2 separate regions of the Homo sapiens genome follow, and region 2 is linked to region 1. Evidence: promoter capture Hi-C in 16 types of primary human blood cells and fetal thymus (Javierre and others, 2016). All regions are on one chromosome and are shown on one strand. Each heading gives the region's core, a stretch centred on a gene start or on the middle of the fragment in contact. The rest is flanking DNA. Distances are from core to core; before and after follow the strand shown. Region 1 holds the start of RASD2 (RASD family member 2). Region 2 has its middle 16 kb from the start of MIR6069.

Evidence for each region. Contacts are between HindIII fragments. The CHiCAGO score rates a contact against its expected background, and 5 or more counts as called.
Region 2: a contact is called between a fragment that was not itself captured here and the fragment with the promoter of RASD2 in region 1, in 2 of 17 cell types (erythroblasts and M0 macrophages). The highest score is 5.3, in erythroblasts.

The regions. Positions count from the first base shown.
Region 1 is chr22:35,536,571-35,543,808 of GRCh38, forward strand. It overlaps RASD2 (RASD family member 2), which reads left to right and starts at 4,261. Exons shown (of 3, transcript NM_014310.4): 1 at 4,261-4,930. RefSeq lists enhancers at 2,923-3,485, 3,486-4,048, 4,049-4,611 and a silencer at 3,733-3,952. The HindIII fragment of the contact is 7,504 bases long and covers 1,938-7,238 here.
Region 2 is chr22:35,349,811-35,356,786 of GRCh38, forward strand. No RefSeq gene overlaps it. Among named protein-coding and RNA genes, the nearest start is that of MIR6069, 16 kb to the left of the region's middle. RefSeq lists enhancers at 1-39, 40-572, 1,163-1,671, 1,238-1,357, 2,489-3,364 and 2 more and a silencer at 1,018-1,137. The HindIII fragment of the contact is 2,468 bases long and covers 3,620-6,087 here.

The DNA.
Region 1 (7,238 bases), core at 3,011-5,510:
TGCCTCGGCCTCCCAAAGTGCTGGGATTACAGGCGTGAGCCACCATGCCCAGCCCCATCTCTTTGTCTACAAAACAGGAAGGCTGGGCCACATGACCTCTATGGTATCGCCAACTTCAATCTTCTGGCCAGTGCTTCTCAAACTTTGGCTTGCATCAGAATCACCAGGAGGGCTGGTTAAAACCAGGTGGCCTGGCCTCACTCCCAAAGCTTCAGGTTCACCGGCTTAGAGTGAGGCCTGAGATTCTGCATTTCCAAGTCCCAGATGATGCTGATGCTGCTGGTCCAGGGACCACACTTTGAGAATTACTGCTCTAGCAACCCTGGGTGCACATTAGAATTACTTAGGGGAGCTTTAAACCGTATGGTGATGAAACCCAACTCCAGAGCAATTAAATCAGCATCTCTGAGTGGGGAGCCTGGGTTTTGGTATCTTTTAAAAGCTCCCCTAGGTGATTCTAATGCGCCGCCAGCATTAGGAACTGCTGTTCTAGAAAAGCAGCCTGACGTGTGCTTTTTTTCCTATTGGAATAATTTCTCTTGGACCCCAGCTCAGCCTCTCATTAGCTGCCTGGTTTTGAACAGTCTCCCTGAACCTCAGTTTCCCCTTCTGTAAGTGGGGCTGTTAGGAGGACTAAGTGAAACTCTGCTTCACTGTGTCTGTCCACCCTTCCCTGTGTCCAAGGAGAGCTTGTACGTTTCTTCTGCTCTGAGACTGTTTGGCTGAACACAATTCAATAAGCATTTATTAAAAACTTATAATGTGTGAGATGCTGCCCTTAATGATGTGAGAATAAAAGGATGAATCAGGCTCGGTCCCCACTCAAAAGAGCTCACATGCTAATGGGGGTGACGAGGCATGTGTCCAAAATATGAAGCAGGAAGTAACACCGGCTACGGAGGAAGTAATCATGGTGAAGGCCATTATGTGTGAAGCACTTCGCAGTTTATTTTAATCCTCCCAACAACTCCACGAGGCAGCTACTATTGTAACACCCACTTTTACAGGCCAAGAAACTGAGGCTTAAAGAGAGGACCAGTTACCCACAGCACAAGAGCCAGGCTTTGGTGCTGTGGGAGCCCAGAGGAGGAGATTCACACCATTAGAAAGGCTGGGAGTAAGTTTTGTGGGGAGAAGTGTGGACACAGTGCTTTGAAGAATGTGTAGGAGTTTGATGGGTAAATACAGAGAAAAGGGTATCCCTGATAAGAAACCAGCATACACAAGCTCAGAGGAGGGATAGCTTCTCTTCTTTAGAGACCCGGAAGTGATTTGATTTTGCTGGAATGGAGGTTGAGTGCAGGGCATGGTGGGAATCACGTCCTGGTTGGAGGCCTTGTTCGCTAGGATAAGGAATTTAGATTTTTAGACTTTATATCTTTTTTTTTTTTTTGAGACAGAGTCTTGCTCCGTCGCCCAGGCTAGAGCACAGTGACACGATCTCGGCTCACTGCAACCTCTGCCTCCTGGATACAAGCAATTCTCATGTCCCAGCCTCCCGAGTAGCTGGAATTATAGGCGCACACCACCACGCCTGGGTAGTTTTTATATTTTTAGTATAAAATTATTATATTTTATATTTTTAGTAGTAGGGTTTTGCTATGTTGGCCAGGCTGGTCTCAAACTATTGGCCTCAAGTGATCCTCCCATCTTGGCCTCCCAAAGTGCTGGGATTATAGGCGTGAGCCACCACACCCAGCCCAAGATTTTATATCTTAAGCAATGGGGAGCCCTTGAAAACTCTTGAGCAGGAGGTGGCAGTTTTAGAACAGGGCTAAAATGGTCACAGGTTATATGGGAGAGAGAGGGTGACAGGGAGCCCAGGGACGAAGGGGGCAGCTATGACAAAGGGTCTGATGAGGGATGATAAAGCAAGTGGGTGGGGAGGGGGGAAGGGGAAAATAGGCACATGTGAGAAGTGTGCTGTTGCTACACAAAGCTTCCTTGGGCATCAGTTGATCCCTTATGTGTATTTGCTTATTGACTGAGCCCTACCATACCAGGAGTGGGGGAGGGCAGGAGCAGAAGACAGAGGCTGGGGCAAGTGGACCTCCCAGGGTTCTCACTCCACATGCAGCTCCCCTCGCGACTGGGATATGGTCAGTGGGACATGACCCATTCTGTTGAACAACTCTGCAGAAGCAGGGAGCAATTGGTTCTTGGGCCGTCTGCTACATTTCCGTGATGGAGGTGGCAGAGCTGGCCCAGCGACCTGAGTCTTCCTGACCCCAGCCTTCCAGGTGAAGCGTGCCACCCTGCTCACCTCCCACTGCCAAGTTCACTGCCAGCTCAAGGCTCACAGCCTGTGTGTGTCATGCCCAGCACAAACCCTCCCGGGCTGAAGCCAGTTCCCAGAGGCAAAGTCTGGATGTGGAAAATGCACCAGGCTGCAATCCTGCCACTTGCCACCAGGTGACTTTGGGCACATCCCCTTAGCCCCTCTGTGGCCTAAATTGGGGCATTAAACACAATCAGGTAGTACAGGTACTGCACCCTCCACCCCCACCTGCCCCATCCTCTCTGGTTAACTTTCCTGGAGAATCTCAAGATGTTACAGAGACAAGCAAAGCAAGTCACTTTCCATATTCAAAGTCCCAGGCCATTTTAGTACTTCTGTCATTCTGTGGACCCATCAATATCATACCCATTTTAGAGATGGCACAACCAGGACCCAGAGACTTTTCATGACGGCCCAGGGTCAGATATCTAGGTAGTTACGGAGACAGGACTTGAACGCCAGTCTCTCAGCCAATGGAGCTGACCCCTCAGGTGCCCTCCCAGACCCCTGCGTCCTCTCATGAGGTAGGGAGGCCAGATCTGGGTTGGGGGTGAGGCTGGCAGACATCCCTGAGGTCCAGGGATCTGGAACTGAGGGACACAGACACAGCATCCCATCCCTTTGCTGTATCACACAACGAGAACATTCTCTTTTAAGCCTCCTGATATGTGAAGGAGAAAGTCTCTGTTAGGTGCTAATGGGTATTTAACACCTCTCCAAACCTTGCCAATCTCCCTTTTTCACTGAGGGCACACATCTCAAGCCTTGGCAGGCCACGGTTTCCAGCTGGAATTTAATAACCTTGCTTTGTTTTCACTGTGCTTATTTTAACTCTTACTTTCTATTTATGGCAAGTGATACTGATTTCCCATTTAAGGCAGTGATATAATGATTCTCTAAAAAAACGTGTTTAAGGGGTGGGGAAAGTGGATCTGATATTTTAAAAAATATATTAAGTAATAAGTGGTGTGGAGATATGGCCCAGTGAGAAGGCCCGATGTCTGGCCTAGGTCAAGCCCCTCATTTAAAGGTGGGGAGGGAGAATGCAGGCAGGAGACGCAATGCTCAAGGCACCTGGTGTGTCCCCGTCGGCCGTGGTCTCTGAGACTCGCATGCCTCGAAGACCTCTGGCTACTAAGCCTAGGTGACTCCCCGCCCCTCTGGGCGACACGTGCATGGCCCATGTGCCAGTCCGCAGGGTCCCGTGGGCACCGTGAGCTCGGGAGGGAGGCGGCGGCTGGGACAGGCAGGTTGGACACCTGGGAGGGCACCCGGGGACTTCCGCGAAGGAGGAGGGCGCTGGAACCGTGGCGCGCTCGACCTGGCCGGGCGCAAGCCGCTGGAGACCCCGGCCGAGTGGGCAGGCGGCCGGACCCCATGCGGGTCACCTGCGGCCAGGCCGGGCGTGCGTGTGAGCGCGTGCGCAGACGTCAGCCTCCGAGGCCCGGGCCGCCTTCTGGGCAAGGTGCGCGCGCCCAGCGGCCCCGGCCCCACGCGCCCGGACACGCGGAACCGCAGACCGCGGCGCCCCGGAGGCCGCGAAAGGGATGGGCGGGGCCGGGCCGCGGGACCCGCCTCCCATTGGCCGGGCGCCGGGGCGAGGCGGGGCGCCGGGGTGGGGCGGGGCGAGCGGGCTCTGGGGGGCAGACGCTGGCGCTGGGCGGCGGGAGGCGCGGCTCGCGGGGGGCCGAAGGAGCAGGTGGGCGACGCTCGCAGGGGCGCGGGAGGGTGCCGCTGGGACCGTCATCAGGAGCCTGGGGTTCTGCCACCTTTCGGAGGGATCAGCGACCTCTTCGCCCTGCGGGTGACAGTGGGGCATCTGCCTGCGAGAGGGGGAAGGAGGGAGAACCCAGGGCCACACACAAAGTTCTCCTCATCTGGGGACAGGAGGAGGTGAAGGAGGAGGAGCCGGGTTGATGCTAACTTGGAGCTGCGAAACCTTGGGGCGGCGTTCAAGGCCCCCTCCCACACGCGCGCAGAGCAGAGCGCCCTGCTCCTCCTTCAGCTGCTGGCGTCGCCGCGCGGGGAGAAAGAAGCCGTCCCTCCGGCGCTGGGAGAGCTGCAGAGCCGCGGGCAGAGAAGGAGGCCGCGGCCGAGCCCGGCAGCCCGATACCCCCCATCCGAGCGACCCCCTTTGGGGCAGGCGGAGAAGGTGGCATAGGCGACCAGGAGGGTTCGCCCACCTGGGACACGCACCCACAGTCACCTCCAAAGGACCCCCCCTCCCCAAGTCTCTAGGAGCTGCTCCTTCATCACTGGAGTCGCCCCTACCTCTCTGCCCCCAGCCCGAGAGCCCCAGGCGGGGACCCCCGGATCGGACGTCCCCAAGCCTCCGGGCACCTGGCTCAGCAGGAGGCCCCCGGCTCGGGGCAGGGCAGGGCCGGCGGCGGCGAGCCGGAGCCCGCCCCCTGCCCGGGCCCCGCCGAGCCCTCGGAGCCCACCCATGGGGCACCTGCCCCTTGCGCCTCCTTGCCCGGCCGCGCCCAGCCCGGCGTCCCGAGCAGCGCAGGGGAGGATCCCCGCGCAGTGACCCGGGAGCCACCACAGACTCTGGGAGGCTCGGCGGCTGGAGCAGCAGGCAGCTCCCCGCAGCTCCCGGCGCTTCCAGGCAGCTCTCTGAGCCGTGCCAGAGGCCCGGCCCGCCATTCCCAGGTAGGAGACGCCCCAACAGAGCTGGGCATCTGGGGGAAGTGGAGCAGCCGGGAAGAAAGGGTAGAGGCTTGGAGGAGGAAAGCTCAGTGATTCCTTAGATGACCAGAGAAAGTGAAATTGATTGAGCACCTACTATGTGCCGGGATCGTCTGGCAACTTTGCATACCTAGAGAGAATTAAATTCGTTGAGCACCTACTGTATGTGTCAAACTGAGTGCTATACCCTTGACTTAATCCCAGGAAAGAAAGATTTATTGAGCTTCTACTATGTGCTAGTTTTGGTGCCACAGGCTTTGCATTTAAAGAGCTAGAGTAATAGCCCATTTAAATAGGAGGAAACGGGGGCTCAGGGAAGACGAGTCAACTACCACAAACACTCCTGTCCCTCTTCTGGAGCTGGCTGCAGCCTGCATTACCTGGAGGTGGGGAAGGAAGATTAAGAAGCTCCTTCGTTATCCAGAGTTCTTGAGCTTTTTCTGGGTTGGTGCAGAGTGAGTTTCCTGGATGATTCCCTTCCCAGGAGGGGTTTCCTGTAACTTAGCTGTCTTGGAGGGCCCGGAAGGCAGCTCTGGAGGCCTCTCTGTGCCCTCCCCTCCCCTTGTCCCCAGCACCAGGAGGATGACAGGGGATGTTGTCCAAGACCTCATGGAAGGTGGGAAGCCAGGCTGGGAGGGAGCAGCCAGGTCAGGAGCCAGTGAATCAAGCCTCCTGTGGTGTCAGAGACAAGATGGGGTCCCTGCAAGACCTGCGCCTGCATTCCAGTCCAGCCTCACCAGGCTGCTCTAGGCAGCCCCACGACTGCCAAGATAAAGTGCCACGAAGAAAAGAACCCAGCATGTGTTCAGGTTTGCTGCGGGTCAAGAGCTGGGTCAGCCTCCAGACTTATTGGAAACCCAGGGCCACACAGGGGGTTTATGTCTTACCATTAACAGAGGAATAACCTGAGCCCCAGGAAGCCAAGTCATTTGCCCAGGGCTGCCGGGCTGGTGAGAGGCAGAGTTGGCCTGCCAGAAGTGGATGCCTGCCTACCTTCTACCACCTGAGCTGCCAAGGGTGGTGGGGTTGGCTTTGCCAAGCTCCCGGACTCTCAGAGTGGCAGCTGGAAGCCAGTGATGGCAATGTGCGTGTCCAAAGAGGCTGAGTGTGCACTGATGGAGGAGGCATGGGGGTGTGGAGGAGGGGCAGTGCAGTGAAACAGGCTCTGGGGCATACACCGGGAGGACACGTCCAGACTCTTGTCCTGCTGCCTGTGCCCGTGTGACCCCTTCATCTTTCAGGCAGGCCCTGGGAGAGAGGCTCAAGGGAGAAGTGGTGAATCCACAGGTGCACTTGCTCAGAGGTGGCTGGCAGGGTTAGGGGAGAATCCTGGGAGGTGCCTGCCCCCTTTCCGCTCCGCTGCCTGCAGGGAGAGAGGGAGTGAGAATATAGTATGTCTCGGCGTCATCCCCCCGCCTGATGCCAGCTGAGGCTTCACTGAGACAGACAGTGTTTTGGAAAAGACCAGTTTTGGCTGGGGGTGGGTTTTCATAGAGTTAAGAGCCCAGACTTTGAAGCCAAACAGCCTGGTTCTGATCCCAGCCCAGCTAGTCATCTGCTGTGTGAACTGGGGCAAGTGACTTAACCTCTCTGAGCATCAGTGTCCCCATCAGTCAAGTGGGCTGATGGATGCCTTCCTGGCTGTGGTTACTGTGCCCCCAGGATGGCGTCCCCTCATCTCTGCTCTGGGAACTTTCTGGCTTCCACCTGTCCTCAGAATGGCCCTGTGATGGGGTCAGTAGTCACAGTATGTGCATTCAGATACCTGTGCCGCTAGGGGGTCTCCGTTGAATTTCCTGCCTCTCTGAGCCTCCTCTCTCTGATTCCTTACTTCCCCTCTCTGATTCCCTGCCTCCTCTCTCTGACTTCCTGAAATCCATTCAGTCACTGATATTGGACTCTAAATTCCCAAAGGGCTCTTCAAACTCATCCCTGTCTGCTCCTCGCTGTATGAGGTCAGCCTGGCTGAGGATGGAGAAGGGAGAACAGGCTGCAGAGGAGAGATGTGCCTACGAGGGTGCCCATGGTGCCACCTCTGGGGGAAGAGAGGGAAGAAAGATGTGGAGGCAGGAGGCGGAGCCCACAGAGGCACTGTCCCCTGGCGTCCAGGTGTCCAGATGTCTCACACAGCCCCACGTGGCTCAGGCCATGTGAAGAATCAGTCTTCTCTCAGAGATAAAAACCACAGAGGATTTTTTTTCTCTTTTTCCCCACCCTGATTCCCTGTCTCTTATTTCTGACTCCTTGCCTCCTCTATCTGTCACCTTGCCTC
Region 2 (6,976 bases), core at 3,604-6,103, 190 kb before region 1:
GCCTCCTTCAGAGAGAAGGCTGCTGGGGCTGCATGGGGGCTGGGGGGGGGGGCGCTGGCGGGAATTCATCAGTGCAGTCAGGCTGGGTTCCCTGGCAGCAGGCTCTGTCTGAGGCTGCAGGCCTGGGCGGGATCACTTTACAGCTGCAGGAAGTCTTGGCCCCAAGAAAATGAGGGCCAGCTGTCTGGTGGGAGCCTTGGGTAGGAGCAGGGCCTCCACCTGGCACCACAGGGCAGGATTAACGAGGTGCCGCCGCTCCCGCTGGGCCCAGCTACATCGGAAGGCGCTGGGCCGGGGGCATGGAGGGGAGGGGTTGAGTGGAGCTGGGAGGGGCTGGTGGGCAGGGGAAAGGGCGCCTGGGGGGCAGCCCCAGGCCTGCCTTTGAGGAAGCCTTTTGCAGAGCCTCCACCAAGCCCTCTCCCTCCTGGCTCCCCTGGGCCACCACGATCCCACCCTGGGCCTGGACACCGACCCCTCCACCTCCTGCCCTAGTGTCAGTACCCACCTCCCAGACCGGCCACTTCTGGGCTGTGTGACCTTAGGCAAATTACTTAACCTTTCTGTGCTTCTGTTTTCTCACTGGTAAAATGGGCAGATAACACTCGTTGCCTCATAGGGTTGTTAGGGTTGACTGAGCCAACAAGTAACTCAGCACCTGCCATGTAGACAATGCTCTGTACATGTTGTTATTGTCACGGATGGTTCCCTGCTCCCTTCCAGAATGGCCTCTGCTCCAGACACCTGGCTCAGAGCCCTGCCCCTCAGACTCCTCAGTAATTCTAGGGACCCCTGCTCTGCCTCTGGTATTGCCTTCCCAGCTCCAGAATAACGTCTGTCCCTACTCCCCACTGGGAGAGAACCAAAGGACTGTGTCTGTCTTTCCTCCTGGTCTGGGCTGCTAACCCTAAGAGGGTCAGGGCTGTCTTGATCCTGGCAACACGGCAGGGTCCCCCTGGCGTTCCTGGATTGGGCTCTGCGGGCTCTCGGTAGGCGCTTTAGGAAGCCTTTGCCCGCTCCAAGGTGGCTGGAGGTAGGCCCAGTTCTGAGTCCTGAGCACGGTCTACGGCCCCTGCTCAGGGTCAGTGTTTCAAGGCGACCACGAGATGGCAGTAGCACTGCATGTACAGGGCTTGCCGGGGCACTAGGGTGGAGTCCACCGCGGCCAAATCAGCCCCTCCCGGGTACAGACACCGGGAGAAAGGGGCGGGTGCTGCCGGCTCCTGCCCGCTCCTGCCCCGCGCGAGCTCACAGGCGCGCGCGTGCACACACACACGCGCACACGCCCTCTGACTGGTGGGGCTGAGTAACAATGGTGATGGGGCTGGGAGCTGGAGTCCGAGGGTCTGGCTTCACCGCCGGGCTCTGCTGTGGGACTACACAAGGGATTTCATCTCTGGAAGCCTCAGATCTTCTTAAACGTCCCGATTCACAGGGTTGTGGGGAGGATTTGGTGAGACAAGCTGGGAGCTCAGCTACGGGAGCTTTGGGTGGGCAAAAGTGAGCCCGGTCCCCTCCCTCTCTTTACAGAGCCCCGGTGTGCCGTTGCTGGGGCCCCCTGCTCCCGCGCCTTCTCAGCCGACACGCTCAGATCCGTGTGCATTGCCGTTTCTGTCTCCACGTGTAGACAAATCATGAGCTCGCCCAGTAACTCCAGCTCTACCACAGATTCCTTCTCTTTTCCGCCCTTCCCCTATGTCTAATTCCCTTCTCCAGCAGTGAGAAACCTGCTTCCCGCCGTCCTTCATTCCTTCTCTCCCCCCATCCCCGCAGAAACCAATCTCTGTTGCCACCACTGCCCCGTCCTGCCAGTGCCTCCCACCCTCTCCGCGTGGACCGCCACCACCCTGCCCCACAGACAGGCCCCTAGACACAGAAATCTTCTTTCTCACAGTTCTAGAGGCTGAAGTTCAACATCAAGGACGTGGACTCCATCTGTTCAGTTGGTTCCTTCCGGCCCCTCCGTGGCTGTATATGGTCATCTTCTCCCTGGGGCCTCACATCATATCCCCTCTGCATCTCTCTATGTTCAAAAGTCCCATTTTTATAAGGACAGCATTCATCAAGGATTAGAGTCCACCTAATGATCTATTGTACCTATTGTACCTTAATCACTTTTTTTTTTTTTTTTTTTGAGACAGAGTTTCACTCTTGTTGCCCAGGCTGGAGTGCAATGGCGCGATCTCGGCTTACTGCAACCTCCGCCTCCCAGTTCAAGCAATTATCCTGCCTCAGCCTCCTGAGTAGCTGAGATTACAGGCATGCGCCATCACACCTGGCTAATTTTGTATTTTTAGTAGAGACGGGTTTTCTCCATGTTGGCCAGGCTGGTCTCGAACTCCCAACCTCGTGTGATTCACCCGCCTCGGCCTCCCAAAGTGCTGGGATTACAGGTGTGAGCCACAGTGCCTGGCACTTCTTTAAAGGTCCTACCTCCAAATACAATCGCATTCTGATATACTAGGGATTAGAGATTCAACGTATGAATTCAAAGGGACGAAGCAGCCCTGTATTGCCCTCTGCTGCCCTCTAGGCCCTGGGTCCATTCTCCCAGACACACTGCTCTTTCGCAGGTGGCCACAGTGTCTTCAGAGGGGCTGCCACATGAAACACCCGCCTCCACTCCCTGCCCCCTGCCCCCTGCCCTAGTGGGAGTTTGAGGGTGGCTAGATTCATCCTAGGGCAGCCTAGCCTTAGATCCAAGGATTAGCCATGGGACCAGGAGCGAGCAGGGGTGCCGGCAGAGTGGAGGGAGATACAGGTGCTGGGAGCTGGGCTGGGGCTGCTCTCCTGGTCCCCATGTCCGCTTGTTTTTTCAGAGCAGACCCAAGCGGGTAAGCTGGCAGGTTTCACTTCCACCCACCCTGGTACAGGGCGAGACTGGAGGAAGCAGCTTCGCCGGGCCGAATCCTCACCCCTTGCCTCTGACTCAGGACTCCCGTGACGTCTTCCTGCCCCTGCTGCAGGCTGGCCCTGCACCCTCTGTGCACCGTGGACCAGGCTGGCCAGCAGAGGGAAGGAACCCAAGCTGACCAGGGCCCCAAATCCCCAGTGGGTCAGAGTCAGGTTGGCAGGGCACTTGGACCTCTTGAGGCGGGTGAGAAATGTGCAGACAGGGAAGTGGAGGCCCAGGGAGGGGAGGGGCCTGCCCTGACCAGTGTACTGCCTCCCTACCTGGTGCAGGGGCCCAGGAGGCTCTGTGTGCCAGCCCAGCCTGCCCGGGGAGGAAGCAGCCCCCACCCACGCACAAGCACAGGGAAGTCAGTGCAGGGTGGAGGGTGGGGACTCCTGGGGCCCCCTGTGTCAGGTCCAAGCACGGCCCAGGAGTCAGCCAACCGAGCTTCCAGCGGTGCACAGACACTGACTTCCTGTTTGATTTGGAGCAAGCCTTCTCCTCTCTCTGGGCCTCAGTTTCCCCATCTGTTAATCGGCTTGATTTAAGAGAGCGTAAGGCCCCTTTGCACTCTGCTTTTCTGCCCTATCAACCCCCAAATTCCATAATCCTCCTTCCAAAAAGGAAAGAAATACGAGGAAAGAAACTCAAATATCTACAAGAGAGGGAAGCAGGACCCCGGGTTTATCTCCCCTCCAGGACCAGCGGCGATAGGGAAACAACTGCCCAAGCTTCAGTGGGACCAATGGGTGGAGGCGGCCACCCACACACCCTGCTGAATGCCCGCACAGGAAGCTGACCGCCTAGGGGCAGGAGGGAAGCGAAACCCAAGCCGGGGACATCCTTGCACCTGCCCTGGGGTACCCCTAGGAAAGGGAAAAGCAAGTGGGTGAACTGAGGAATGGGGGTGCTGCCCATGCTCCCCACAGGACCCTGCCCTCACTGGAGCCCTTGGAAGCTCTGTTAAAAATGAATCTTCAGCCAGGCGCAGTGGCTCACGCCTGTAATCGCAGCACTTTGGGAGGCCGAGGTGGGTGGATCACCCGAGGTCAGGAGTTCAAGACCAGCCTGGCTAACATGGCGAAACCCTGTCTCTACTAAAAATGCAAAAATTAGCCAGGCGTGGTTGTGGGTGTCTGTAATCCCAGCTACCAGGGAGGCTGAGGCAGAAGAATCGCTTGAACCCGGGAGGCGGAGGCTGCAGTGAGCCGAAATCGCGCCACTGTACTCCAGCCTGGGCAACAAGAGTGAGACTCCATCTCAAAAAATATACAAATTAAAAAAAAAAAAAAGAATCTTCATTTTACAAAGGAGGGGGTGAGGTCAGAAAAGTCAACTAGCTAATCCAAAGCCACACAGCCGGCAAGTGGAAACATTGAGTCCTCTTTTCTGGGGAGAAAAGGTCCCTGGGGGATCAGGATGAAGTGCACTCTATTCTGGGCCTGGGGCTGCGCCTAGGTCTGCCTTGGGGCTAGAAAAGTCACTGTGTACATTATCTGTATGAGTAGCCCTGAGCCCTGCAAGCCACTTAGGCTGCAGAGGCCACTGGACCCCTGCAGGGAGAAGGCTGGCTGCTGAGATGGGGCCCTCCCTCAGGATCCCTTCTCAGGCCCAGACCAGTGCAGAGACTTGCCCAAGGCCACACAGCAAATTTGTAAAAGAACTGAAACTAGAATCCCGGTCCTCCATAGCACCTGCCCCGCAGGAGGTGGGCGAATGGAGGACAGCTGGGAAGTCTGTCTTCAGAAGGCCCTCCCCAGCACCCTGCACCGTGCTCTGGGCTCCCACAGAACTTTCAGCCTCAGAGACCAACTAGGCCAGTGGGTTCTAAAACCTTCTCTCCCCAAGGAAATCTTCTATCATGGTCTCTCCCCAAGACTATGGATTTAGAAGAGTTTTGTTTGTTTTGATTTTTGGCCACAAAACATTCCACAATGCATTGAGTTGTTAATATTTTTCCCTTTTGGGCATCAGTAATCAAGACTTTTTTTTTTTTTTTTTTTTGAGACAGAGTCCCGCTGTGTCCCCCAGGCTGGAGTGCAGTGGCGCAATATCGGCTTACTGCAACCTCCGCCTCCCGGGTTCAAGTGATTCTCCTGCCTCAGCCTCCCAAGTAGCTGGGATTACAGACACATGCCACCACGCCTGGCTAATTTTTGTATTTTTAGTAGAGATGGGGTCTCACCATGTTGGCTAGGCTGGTCTCGAGCTCCTGACCTCAAGTGATCCACCCACCTCGACCTCCCAAAGTGCTGGGATTACAGGTGCGAGGCACTGCGCCCGGCAGTAATCAGACTTTTAATACACCAATGCAGTATCTCGTTCCATCCAAAAGTGCTCCAGTTGCCTGGGCAGCCTCATCTGAGGGAACTAACAGCACAGCCTCTGTTTGCCCAGCCCCTCTGGGCCCACCCACTGTTTGGAGCAGAACCCCAACCCAAAAGGGCAGGAGCTGAAGATAGCCATGCTCACTGCTGGCCAGGGGCTCCCCCACGGCTCCTGCCAGCCTTGGCCTTCACACGCATTGGGCATCTCCATCGACGGCCACCCTGGCTTCTGCACCGTCCCCACGTAAACATGGCTCTGCCCTCCCATCCCCTCACCTCAACTCTGCAACACAGGGACCCAGGAGACAGAGGCAAGGAAGGGAGAGTGAAGGAGCTGGCCATACCCTCCTGAAGTGCTAAGGGGAGGGAGGAGGGGATATCAAATTCGATGTGAGATTAAACTTCAAGACTGGACTTTTTTTTTTTTTTTTGAGATGGGATCTCATTCTGTCACCCACGCTGGAGTGTAGTGGCGCTATTTCGGCTCACTGCAGCCTCTGCCTCCTGGGTTCAAGTGATTCTCCTGCCTCAGCCACCCAAGTAGCTGGGATTACAGGCGTGTGCCACTATGTCTGGCTAATTTTTGTGTTTGTAGCAGAGATAGGGTTTCATCATGTTGGCCAGGCTGGTCTGAAACTCCTGAGCTCAAGCAATCCACCCACCTCGGCCTCCCAAAGTGCTGGGATTACATGTGTGAGCCACTGCGCCAAGATTGGACTTTTTTGTACTTGAAAATGACAAGAAAGTTAGCAAAACCACCCAAGATGTCACAAAGGACCCTGGTGGAGGCTGGGCATGGTTGAAGACAATGGTTGGAGAAAAGGAAGCTCTCTCATGTCCATGTTTGTGCACAGGGACTTTGGATCTGCAAGCTTGGGGAGGGAGCTGGAGACAGCTGGACTGCTCTGCTCTTAAGAGGGAGGTGAATCCTACCGGGCCATCTGGAAGAGGGCCTGAGAGCACAGAGACAAGAACGGGGAAAGGGAAGAGAGAGAAGGCAGGAGAGGGTGAGCTACTGGGCCCCAGGCAAAGAGTTGGGGGAGGATCAGAGGTCAACTACTGGGGTAGAGGGAGGGAAGGGAGAGGAGTAGCCAAAAAAGATTCGGAAGAACAGATGCTGTATTAGATTGTTCTCTAGGTTCTGTCTAATGTCACCCCTCTCTGTGGCCCTGAGATCTTTAGTAAATGCTCTGCTCATAAGTATTTGTCAAGAGTAGGGTTTTGGGCCAGGCATGGTGACTCACCCCTGTAATCCCAGCACTTTGGGCGGCAGAGACGGATGGATCACCTGAGGTCAGGAGTTCGAGACTAGCCTGGCCAACATGGTGAAACCTCATCTCTACTAAAAATACAAAAAATTAGCCAGACGTGGAGGCGGGCGCATGTAATCCCAGCTACTTGGGAGGCTGAGACAAGAGAATTGCCCAAACCCGGGAGGTGGAGTTGCAGTGAGCAGAGATGGCGCCATTGCACCCCAGCCTGGGCGACAGAGTGAGACTCCGTCTCAAAAAAAATAAAAAAAGAGTAGGGTTTTGGGGAACTGGGGAAGGAGCAAGTTTCATGTCTGAGTCAGCACAGTTCAGAGCAGAAATAGGAAGAAGCTGGGACAGCAGGGTGGGGGAAGTGGTGAAAACACAAGTACCAGGGATTGCCGGAACCTTCAGGAGGACTTTGGGCTTTTACTGGACGTGAAGTTAGGGGAGGACTCTGCCCTTCCCTCAGTGACTTCTTCACATGCTGCCAAATACATTTCATTTTT